Regions from separate parts of the Homo sapiens genome. Here region 1 is linked to region 2. Evidence: promoter capture Hi-C in human tissues and cell types (Jung and others, 2019). All regions are on one chromosome and are shown on one strand. Each heading gives the region's core, a stretch centred on a gene start or on the middle of the fragment in contact. The rest is flanking DNA. Distances are from core to core; before and after follow the strand shown. Region 1 overlaps MAP2K5 (mitogen-activated protein kinase kinase 5). Region 2 holds the start of SKOR1 (SKI family transcriptional corepressor 1).

The links. The method cuts DNA at HindIII sites, captures the fragments that hold promoters and counts their contacts. A contact is called where the count stands out against the background at its distance.
Region 1: a fragment that was not itself captured here is called in contact with the fragment with the promoter of SKOR1 in region 2 in 1 of the 25 tissues and cell types used here (IMR-90 fibroblasts).

Annotation. Positions count from the first base shown.
Region 1 is chr15:67,599,678-67,605,808 of GRCh38, reverse strand. It overlaps MAP2K5 (mitogen-activated protein kinase kinase 5), which reads right to left. Exons shown (of 22, transcript NM_145160.3): 8 at 5,060-5,124. Among named protein-coding and RNA genes, the nearest start is that of MAP2K5, 60 kb to the right of the region's middle. The HindIII fragment of the contact is 8,159 bases long and covers 1-6,131 here.
Region 2 is chr15:67,823,104-67,828,765 of GRCh38, reverse strand. SKOR1 (SKI family transcriptional corepressor 1) reads right to left here and starts at 3,257. Exons shown (of 9, transcript NM_001365915.1): 1 at 3,057-3,257; 2 at 622-2,830. The coding sequence starts at 3,163. LOC124903570 reads right to left here and starts at 5,389. Exons shown (of 4, transcript XM_047433429.1): 1 at 5,327-5,389; 2 at 4,723-4,807; 3 at 3,364-4,127; 4 at 3,182-3,253. The coding sequence starts at 5,389. The coding sequence ends at 3,182. RefSeq lists enhancers at 713-1,350, 1,351-1,989. The HindIII fragment of the contact is 30,837 bases long and covers 1-5,662 here.

The sequences.
Region 1 (6,131 bases), core at 1,956-4,455, 220 kb after region 2:
TCTCATTTTAGCCAAGACGTACCAAGGGTCTATTTTATCCTTAAAACTGTGCTGGGTACATGAGAAAACACAAGAAAACAAAATGGACTCTGCTTGACCTTGAGACAACACTGCCTGGGGGAAGAACACCAAGCAAAAAGAAAAGAAATGCTGTATAGAAATCTGGCTTTGCTGCTGAATGGCCACATGATAAGCCCCAGTTTTTTCAGTGGTAAAATGGGCTTAACCCAGCTGTCCTATAGCAATCTGAAAATAAATTAGGATTAAAAATACTTTGAAACTTTAAAAAATCATTGTATTTAAGATAATACATAAGATATCATGATTCATTAAGCAACTACAGAATAGAAGAAAATACAGAAGTATAATGTGTATAATATAAAGGCAGAATTTCTCAAAGTTAGTTCAACACAACTATAATTCTGTGAGATGTTTATCAAAAAGAGTCCCATGGCTGGCTGGGGGTGGTGATTCACGCCTATAATCCCAGCACTTTGGGAGGCCAAGGCAGGTGGATCATGACGTCAGGAGATCCAGACCATCCTGGCCAACATGGTGAAACCCCATCCCTACTAAAATACAGAAAATTAGCTGGGCATGGTGGTACATGCCTGTAATCCCAGCTACTCTAGGGAGGCTGAGGCAGGAGAATCACTTGAACCCGGGAGGCAGAGGTTGCAGTGAGACGAGATCTTTCCACTGCACTCCAGCCTGGCGACAGAGCGAGACTCTGTCTCAAAAAAAAAAAAGAAAAGAGTCCCATGGCCAAGTCAAGGTAGGAAGTACAAAATGTAAATAATTTTTCTATTATTAGTACTACCATTACCAGTAGTTAACATTTAATAAGTGTCAGTCATAGCGCTAAGCCTTTTACGGATCTTCTCATTTAACCTCACAACAACCTAGATACTATTAATTTTTTTTTCTTGTTCTGTTGCCAGGCTAGAGTACAGTGCCACAATCTCGGCTCACTGCAACCTCCACCTCCCGGGTTCAAGCTATTCTCCTGCCCCAGCCTCCCGAGTAGCTGGGACTACAGGCGCCCACCACCATGCCCAGCTAATTTTTATATTTTTAGTAGAGTCGGGGTTTCACTATGTTGGCCAGGATGGTCTCAATCTCTTGACCTCGTGATCCACCTGCCTCGGCCTCCCAAAGTGCTGGGATTACAGACGTGAGCCACCGCACCCCGCCCAACCTAGATACTATTATTATCCCCATCTTGCAGATGGGAAAACTGAGGCATAAGACATTATATAACTTGCCAAAGGTTACGTAGCTAATTAGTGACAGAGGCAGGATTCAAACTTAGAGCCCTCACACTTAACCACAACACATACTATTCTCTACTTTCTCAAAGTTTTTGAAATTCATTATGAATCTCTCAGAGGGAAATAGAACATGTGTCTTTCCTGAATTTATTTTTTTGGAGCAACTTGCAGCACTTTAGGAAATGAGGCAACAAGGAAAATACATTCATTATCTTTTCCTAAACTTTTCTTCTTCCTAGGCTTGGGCCATACTTTAAGGTATTTCCTTTATGTTCCATGTAGCCCAAATTAGTAATCCAAGAAATACCAACTTAAAATTACCTGCCTAAGTCACTCTCATAATATAGAGCACAGCTCGTCAGGAGACAGCACACAGAATTCACATTACCATTTGGTTTAAATGTCTGGGGCCAGAATTTCATATTGTACAACTGTGAAGGATATCTACACTTAAAGGAGGAAAATGTATCAACTGTTAAATCATATACATTGTAATTACACGATTATAATATCCCTTGAAATTCCCAAAATTCCATCAAGTGAAGTGAATAAGACTGCATTATTAAACTTTTGCTTTGCACTTATTAGCTTTATTACACTTTAAAGAAAAAAATGGAATAAGCCTATTAGGCAGTTTTGTTACCAATGAGTGGATTTTCCAATATTTTCTTCATCTAGTTTATGTAGCATAGCCTATAATGTAATCATGCTGTTTGAAAAACCATATTTTTTATCATCAACACCATTAAGGTGAACTTAGTGTAGAAGAAACTCAATCATAACACATCAAACACTTAGTTTTATAGAGACTTTAGTAAAGTGGATCCTCATTTATCAATGATTATATCATTTCTTTGCACTGTACTAAAAGCCAGGGATATAAGAACAATAATACAAGCTGAAGCCTGAGCAAAAATGATGCCCAATGATCAATGACAAGCGGTTATGCAATTTGGTATCTTCACCGCCCCTCTCAAGAATCACACAGGCAATAAGGTAAATGAAATTTCTTTTTATAAGAAATCTACTATATAAGAATGAAAATTATCAGGATACTGTCATTCACCATCTATAAGCAATCCTGTCAAAAACATTACATCTTACAACACTCACAGTGAGCATTAGCAACGGTAGCTAAATGAGCTCTTAGGATAAATTCCTAACGTTACACACAGCATTCTAGCAAATTAAAAAACTTGTGGCAAGGACATATAGAAGAATGGTCCCTTTGACATAGTAGCCCTAATTAAAGGAGAAGTTCTAGCCATGCTTCTTAGCTAAAAACAACATTAACAGAGTGATGGGGGAGTTACTGTTTAATGGGTGCAGAGTTTCGATTACACAAGACGAAGAGTTCTGTGGATGAATGGTGTTAACAGTTGCCAACAATGTGAATGTACTTAATGCCACTAACTATACACTTAAATATGGTTAAAATGTTAACTTGAGTTATGTGTATTTCACCACAATTTAAAATAACAATTTTAAAAACAACATTAACATAATTTCATGTTGTAATTTTCCCTTGGGGGATGGGCATGTTTTTTCCACTTCTCTGTATACTCCCTCTTTTAAAAAATAAACCTGGCCAGGTCTGGTGGCTCACTCCTGTAATCCCAGCACTTTGGGAGGCCAAGGCAGGTGAATCACGAGGTCAGGAGCTCGAGACCAGTCTGGCCAATATAGTGAAACCCCATCTCTACTAAAAATACAAAAATTAGCTGGGCATGGTGGCGTACGCCTGTAATCCCAACTGCTTGGGAGGCTGAGGCAGGAGAATCCTGGGAGGCAGAGGTTGCACTGAGCTGAGATCGTGCCACTGCACTCCAGCCTGGGCAACAGAGCGAGACTCCATCTCAAAATAAACAAACCAACCAACAAACAAACAAGCCTATGTTTTAAAATAAAGGATTAAAATGTCAACATCTAGAATATTATGTCTCGTAAAAATTCTGCTGGGGTTTCATGGTCTTATGCTTCTTCCCTTCTAGAAATAAGCTAGGAAAATAAATTCACAATAGACCTTCAATTAATATAAAACTAAAGGTTTGGTGAAATAACACAGATAAGTAGGTTAGGAGTCTAAATAAACATTTTTAAATTCCATTTGAAGCAAATAAAAGGAATACAAAGAGTTGCCAGAAATCTTTCCTGTTTTATTATATTTGGCTATCAGCATAAAGGCATTAAGAAGAAAGGTTCAAGCTTTGAAAAGTGCTCCCTCCAGGGAACTCAATAGAAGCAAATCAGAGTATACATGTTCCTTCTTCCTCTTTCCTTTCTATGGGTACCTGAACTTAAGTACCTTCAGAACACAGGAAAAATCTAAGTCAGATCGTAAGGAAGAGAAGACTAAGATGAAAAGATACCGTTTATAGTGGAGGTTGCGTGGGAAGGAACGCTAGTATGATCCAGGGAAAGAGAATAGTAGCCGCAAAAATCATTAGACACATTGGACCTCAATTTTAAGGGCCAGGCCCAAGGCCCAAGGAACATGTAAGAAACATGTTATTATTTATTTCTCTGAATTATCATAGTGGAAGAACTTCATTTTCAGACCAACTGTTCACAATACTCAGTCATCTGCAGGAAAAAACAATCCAAACATGTGAACATAAGTTCTTAAAGGACTATATTCAGGAGAAAGGACTCACATCTTGGCTGTATCTGCAAAGGGCACTGAAGCCCTGAATGGGTGACTGGATCAGATTACTTCAAAAGAGCTTCTAAGCCTGAGAAATCAAATTCTATACCAAGGCTGCATCAATGAGTAGGGGATGTTCTGGGATTTTTAGGATGTGAACCTTCATGGTCATAGAATAGGGCAATTTTTATGTGTATTCATGTGGTTAGTCAGAACTTAAAATTCTAAGAACATGGGTAACCAATTAGAAAATAAGTTAATTATTTTACAACTCTGGAAATACATATTAATATCAATGTTAAAGTATCTGTGGTTGTGATCTAATATCACAACCATAATGTGATGCAGGATTAGTGTATACATGGAAAACCAGCTCTCTGGAGGAAAGTTTTATTATTCCCTCAGGGCTTTCTTACAGAGTATGGATTTTTTAATTCCTAGTGGAATATTTTTCATACACCATTGCAGACTATTAAGTACCAGATATTACATTATGTAGTTTAAACTTTGCACTACTGCATGAGAAGACCTCCCTGTCGGAGAACTATTTTTTATGGCTAGCATTTTTTAAGATGAAAATGAACATTCCTTTGGGGTAAGATCACTGCAACTGGAATTTGGGAGAACTTTATAACTTAACATATTCATCAATGTGTAGAAATTATCTCAGGGGAGTAGGGTGAGGAGAGAAGAAAATACAACAGGAAGAAGGCTTTTTAATAACTTATAGTGTTGACACAGGGCAAAGCAATGGTATTTATAAGGTCTGGCTTCCACTGGGCATAACTGTAAACAGGCAGGGGACTAGCGTAGGGTACTAGCAAGTTAAAAAATAATAATAATAGTGTTAAAAAGCAAAGGAAAAAAATGCATTAAACTTCAGGCCAGTTAAAGGTACACTTACTAATGGTGGACTATTAACTACACACCCAGGAGAGTTGCAGACTCGGAAATATTAAAAAGGCAATATAAATGCACTTTCCAGGCAATTCTTGAGAAAATAGATGTCTTGCAGAATTTTGGAGTCAAATATGGAAATAAAATCTAAGTGTTAGTGGTCATTTAAAAATCTTTGCCACAGAGAACTTGGATACTCAGTATTTGGAAAAGCGGATAGAAAGTTTAAACAAAATTGACTACTCACTTGTAGACTGTGCCTCCGTTGCCATGACCAAGAGTGTCCCGATATCGTATGTCTTGTTCATTCATCTCCACAAGAAAGAAAGAAAAACAAAAAGGGTGTCATGCTGTGGATGGAAATGTCAAGGAAAAGCAACTCTGGGCCATAAACAACAAGCAGTCTGGGTCATTTCAAGTTCAGCTGCAAAAACGAGAAGATCAATACAACGTTTGCTGTCCAATTTATAAAAGACGATACCAAGGGACGAAGTGATGGAAAGTTTAATGACAATTTGTTTGCCTGGGTCATTTCATTAAAGTTTGATAAAAGGTGTCAAAATGGAATGATACAACATAGCTCAAAAGGGTCAGGTCAGAGATACTGATAAGAAAACAGTCTCCAGTACTGCATATAACCAATGCCAAAGAGCACTGCACATAACCAAAGTCAAACTTAGGAAGACAATACACACACACACTCAGTAATCTAATGCATGATCTGTAAATAAATCAGCCCTAGAAAACTCCTCAGATGACCCCCATAATTAACATTTAACAAACTAAATAATGTTTATGATTTTCCTAGAGTAGATATAGCTTTTCTTTGCAAATAACAAACTAGTATACAGCAATAATTAGGCAGAAATCATATTATGAAGATGGAAAAGCACGAAATCAATGCACTTAAGATGCACATATAGTCGAATATTATAATACATAAAGGAAAAATACATAGGCATGTAATTTTTATTAAAGTCATTTTCGTAACTTTATATATAAGTTTGCATGTTTTTCAAGGTTCTATAAAACCTATTATACCACAAATAACTACTCTCATTTGTATTATGAATAGTAGGTGCCCATAAAATAATGTTTTAGAGTTTAGAGAGCTCCCTATACAATTATTTATCAAATGACTTTAAGACTAGTCAGACTTTATTTGATGCATTCAGTAATTTTCTACACACTGGTCCAGATGCTTAAAAATTAACTGCCAACTTTATTCACTAAGTGGATTTAATAAAGGTGTTCTTTTCCATATAGCTAAAGCTTGGGGAAAGCCACTGCAAGCCCTGAAAAAAAAAAAAATCAATTTC
Region 2 (5,662 bases), core at 2,008-4,507:
GCCTGGCTGCATCCTGCCCCTCAAGCCCCGGCCCTGCCAGCTTGAGAGCCCCCCTCCCGCTCCGCACGCGGTCCCGAGACAGCTTCCCAGCAACGAACCCTGTGGTTCCCAAGGCGGGAGTGCGAAGAGACTCGGAAAACTGCGAGTTGGGGTGGTGGGAGATTCCGGGGACCCGGTACTGCTGGGGCCCGACTCAGGGAGAGGCCACACTGTCCTCTCTTCTCCTCTTCCTTGGGGCTCTGATGCCCACCCGGGCGAGCGCTTTTCTCTGGCTCTGGGTTCCTTTCTTACCTCCTCTTTCTTTCTCCACACCCCTTTTCTGTCTCTGTGTCTGGCAGTCTCAGCCGGTCTCCTCCCCATTCCCATCAACAAAAACAAAGCACACAAGTTCCCCAGTCCTCCCGCCGCCCCCAGCTTCCCTTCCCTTCGAAACCCTCACTGGAGGGTGCGGGTGGGCCCAGTTTCGCAGCGCGCCCAAGGCTGGGCCTGCGGAGAGTGGCCGAGGCCTGCTGCTCCCACGCCTGCGCGGAACAAAATTCCCGTTCTCCGCCCGGCCCCGCAGCCCTGCCGCGCACAGGGTAGGTGGGAAGGCGCCACTGGCGGGGCGGGCGCGGGGCTCACCTTGGCCGGCGCGGGGCCTCCTAGGGGCCCGCAAGGCTCTCGCAGCTCGTAGCCGCCGCCGCCGCTTGGCGGGCTCCTCTCAGGTCTCCGCACCAAGTCTTCGGCTGCCAAGTCCCCAAATGCGGGCCGGCCAGCTGGGGGTGGCCCGAGGCGGCGCCGGGGGCGGGGGCTGCCGCCGTCGGGAGAGTTTGCGGGACCGTCCGCGCCAGAGGAGGTGGCGGAAGGGGGTCCAGTGGGCTGTTCACCGTCTGGGCCGCCCCCTGCGCTGGGTGCGCTGGGCTCGGTCTCCTCTTGGGCGTCCTCGTCGTCGGGGAAGCGGTTGGATTCCACGTCCACCTCGGGCTCGTCCGCGGTGTCCACGTCGGGCGAGGCGGAATTGTAGCTGGAGCTGCCCTCGCTCAGAAAGTCCGGGCTCACGTAGCCGCCGCTCCCAGCGCCGGGTCCCGGCCCCCGAGCAGGCCCCGCGCCGTACGCCTCCCGGGCGCTCCCGTAGAGCTTAGCGATGCTCTCGGTGTCCTTGACCACCGGCCGGAAGGCCGACACGTAGGAGCCTTTGCGTGCGGGCGGCGGGGGCGGCGGGGGCAACGGGGCCAGGGGCGGTGGCAGCGCCTCGTCCGTGCCGTCTTCGTCCAGGGGCCCGCGGGACAGAGCGCTCGGGCAGCGCTCCTCCGCGCCGAGGCCACTCTCTTTGGCTGGCTCGGCACCGTCCAGGGGCTCTGGGGCACCGCTGCCAGCAGCTGCCGCTGCCGCCGCCGCTGCCGCCGCCACGGCTGCCGCCACGGCCTTGGCTTGGCTCTGAGCAGCGGGGTAGGACGGTACCGGGAGGCTGCCTGCTGCTGGCCAGAACATGGGAAACGTCGGGTACACAGTGGCGGCGGCGGCCGCTGCAGCCACTGCCGCTGCGTCCTTGGCTGCCCCGGAGGGTTGATGCCCCCAGAACATGGCGCCGCCGCCCGGGCCCGCCCCTGCCCCCGGGGGCAAGTGGCTGGCTCCCGGGCCCCCCGCACCCCCGCCTGTCCCCGCGCCGCCGCCGCCGCTCCCAGTGCCAGGACCGCCCTTTGGCTCGCCCGCGCCTAAAACCGGGTCGTCCTTTTTGGGGCATAGGCCGAAGGCCGTAGGGAAGCCGTAAGGATGGGGGAAAAGTGGTGGGGGCAGCTTTTGCAGGAGCCCAAAGCCTTTGCTGGGCACCGGGATCACCGGGTAGCTTCGTACGCCGGCGCCGCCACCGGGCCCTCCTGGGCCCGCCGGGCCACTAGCTCCAGTCGCCAGGCCAAGTCCGCGCTGCGGGTGGGGTGGAGGTGGCCCCGGAGGCCCGGCAGCCTCATCTTCGCCACAGCGCAGGCTTTTGTGGGGCGGCGGGCCTGGGGCCATCTCTGCACCGCACCCTGGGCCACCGCCGCCACCGCCGCCAGCACCACCCTTCCCCTGCCCACCCGACCCGCCATTGGCACCGCCTCCGCCGCCTCCTTGTAGGGAGAAGGTCCGCTTGCGCGTGCCGCCATTAAACATGGCCTTGACGTCCTCCCAAGCATGGCTCAGTTCGTCTGTGGCCGACTTGTCACTGAGTTTGAGGTGACGACGCCAGGAGTTGAAGTTGGCGGCATCGGGCTGCGTGTACTTGGCGTCGGGTGTTCGGTGCGAGTGGAAGATGAACTTGTTGGGCGAGAAGTACATGCTGCAGTAGCCGCACTTGATGCACTTGGCACGAGAGCTGTTGTAACGCGCAGGGATGAAGCTACCACGCGAGCCCCACGCGCACTCGTGCACCACATCGAAGGCGAAGTTCTCGGGCAGCTTGGGTGGTTTGTGCTCGCCCAGGAACGACTTGCACAGGCGTTCGGCCTCTCGCTTAGTGATCATGCCGCAGCGGCGCGACGAGATGGGCATGGCCCCGGCCCGACGCAGAATCTCCAGCTGTACCGGCGTGCACTGCACGCACGTGATGCCCAGGGCCACGCGGCGGTTGTGGATCTCATTATAGCTGTAGTTCTTGAGGAGGGTGTTGGAGATCTGCGCCAGGCATAGGCGCTCCTGGCCGTCGATGACCAGCGACACAATGGGCACCCCGTACAGCGACGTCTCGCCCACCTGGTTGGGTTTGAGAGCGCTGGAGCCCGAGTACGGCTGCAGCTCCTGCTTGGAGTTGGGCGAGGAACTGCCCTCGCGCCCCGGCCCCAGCTGAGTGGTGAGAGCCTCCATGCCGCCGCTCCTGCGAAATAGAGAAAGCAGAGAGCAGATGAGCCATTTTCAGCGCCGCCGCCGAGGCTCGGGCCCGCCCAGCAGGGCGCTCCGAGTTGGGCGCGCGGGGGATACTTGGCAGTGGGGAGTCCAAACTCATTCACCCCCTGGACAGGCGTCTTTTGTTACTCAGACCCATGTTGGCGCCGTTAACAACAGCCCCCGGGGCTTGGGGGAGGAGAAGGGGTAAAGGAGACCTCAGGAATGCCCGGGCTGCAAGGAACCCAATCCCGTTTTCGGATTGGGAAGGAAGTGAAACCCAGATACGCAGAGTGACTTGCCCAAGGCCACACAGCAAAGCCATTGCCAAATCCTGGCTTTTTCAGCGCCCAGATCCGTGCGCCTTCGGCAACCCTCGCAGCCGGTGCTGCCGGCCCGGGTCCTGAAGCCCGGACTTCGGGGATCGGCCGCCCCTCTGCTCAGTCGCGCATGCACGCGGGCGGGCGGGGGCAGTGCAAGGAGGGGTGGGGAGGGGGGAGGGGCGGTCACTGCCCATCTCCAGACAGCAGGGGGTAGAGGGGGGTGAAGAGAAGGAGGGGGGTGAGGAGAAGGAGGAGGGAACCGTGTCTGCCAGGGAAGGAGAGAGGCGGAGGCTACCGCTGTTCGCGGTGCTGAACCTGACCCTCTCCAAAGCGCTCGGTGCGCACCCGGACCTAGCGCGGCCCCCACCGCACCCAGCTTGGTGCCCGAGCCGGCTTCAGGGGACAACATTGCCAGTTTCCACAAACCCGAGCTTCTCCTCTCACGGCTGGCGCCCGCGTTCGTTGAGCAGAAAGATTTCGGCTGGATATATAAACCGTTTTCTTTCCAGCTATTAGTGAGACCAGGATCCTGCAGTTCTAACCACATTTTCTGCATTTTTAGCTGTATTCCAGACCAAAGCTGGTTTCCACCGAGGTCAACGTGTGGGACAGAGAGGTTCTCAAGGAACTTTGTTGGGATCCACTTCTTAGCTTCCAGTCGCCCACTCCTTGAGCTTTCCTCCTTCAGATATACGTTTCCCACTCGGGCCAACTGCAGGATTCGGGGCTCTGGGCTTCCTCTTTGAGGGGCATCACCTCTCTGAGTATCCTTCATGCCTCGCTGTCCCGGCTCATATGGGCTAGAAGGAATCTCAGCCATCTTCGTAGCCATTGCAAGGCTCCAGGCACACAAGTTGCTGCTGGTCCTTGCACTTTGCTTTCTGGCTGAGGCAGGGAGGGAGCTGTGCAGGCAGACCTCAGCAGCGGGGGTACTTGGGGACTGATGTTTGGGGCCCTCTAGGTCGCCTGACCCAGCCACATGTCCTCAGACAAGCCAGGCTCCCATCCGGCCCAAGGCTGCAGGCGCTCCTGCGGCCAGGGCAGCCCAACCCTGAGGGCTCCTCCCCTGCAGTCGGCCCTGAATGTAACTCCGTTTTCAGAGGGGCAGCTCCAGACAGGGGATCCCAGTTCAAAAGCCTTCAGCAAGGAGACTGGAATCTTCTGTTTATCTGTCTCTCTCCCTTCTTCTCTATTTGTCTAGGAGACCCTCATTTGTCGATCTTATCTGTCCCTGAGCTGTCTCTGCCGGCTCGTTCCTCTTTCTCTCATCTGTTTTGTACCTTCTTCAAGTATCAAGCTATTTATGTATTATCTGTCTGTTTCATCTTTATCTCCGAGGATCGAACTAAAATAAGTTGACCCTTATTTCGCGTTGAAGTCCTTTATATCATTGTAGGAGGCAAAAACACTGTCCTAACTCCCCGGCTGACAAGCCTCGCGCCCTCCTGGAGGTGGCTGGAGGGCGCGCAGCGCTGGGAAATGACAGCTTCTCGGTTTCTCGAAATCGGCAACTATGCCTGGCCCGCATACAGTGAAGACAGCGCCCGAGCCGAGAGCGTACCCCAGTTGAGGGTCCTGGGTCCCTGCGCGGTTTTCCCTGAGTGAGAGGAGGGGGGTCCGGGCCCGGAGTCAGAAGAAGGGGGTCCCTAGGAAAGGAACGGAATTTCGGGGGCCAAAGCGGAAAGCACAGGCGAAGAGCCATATGCAGCGACAAGGAGCAGCAGCCAGAGCAGCTTGAGGAACCCCCGTCGGCTCCCGGAGCTAGATGGACGAGCTTGGGGAGGGCAGCGAAGCGGGAGACTGGCAGTGGTGGGAGCGAGGCGGTGGTGTCTTTAGGTATAATCATAAAAACAACAGCCACAGGAGCCCAAATCAGAACTAAACGAAAAAAAAGCTGCAGGAGCAGAGCGCGGGGGCGGCGGGCTACCGGACGTGGGTACTCACAGTGCGGCGGCGGCTGGAGCCGGGCGAGCGGTGAGCGGAGGTGCGCGGCGGGAGGAGCGGCGGGCGGGAGTCCGGGATCCGCCGGGCTCTCCGGGTGACGGCGCGGCCCCTCCCCGCGCGCGCGCACAGCCGTGCTCCCTGGTTCTCCGCGCTCCCACCCGCGGCCCCTCCCGCTCTCAGCGGGCACGGGGCGCCGGGACCCCGGGCGCGGAGATGCGAACCCTGAGCCGTTGACCCCGAGGCCGGGGACTGGCCGGAAGAAGAGGCCGAAGCCTGGAGCGCATGGCGCGGCGGCGGGGACGGCGCGGTCACAGCCCGAGTGGCGGGGCAGGCGCGCCTGACAGCTGAGAGCCGGGGCGCCACACCCACCGCCCGCGCAGTCGCTAGCGCCCTCCCCGGGTCCGCCCGCCCGCGGGCCACGCGCGGCGCCCGCCGCCTCCCCGCAGCCCAAGGCCTGCACGCCCCAGGTAAGCGGCCGCACACCTGCGTCCAGCACCCTGCACCTGCGTCCCGCTCTAGCTGGAGAGGCCAGGAGGGAGGAAAGGCCCTGGGGCCAT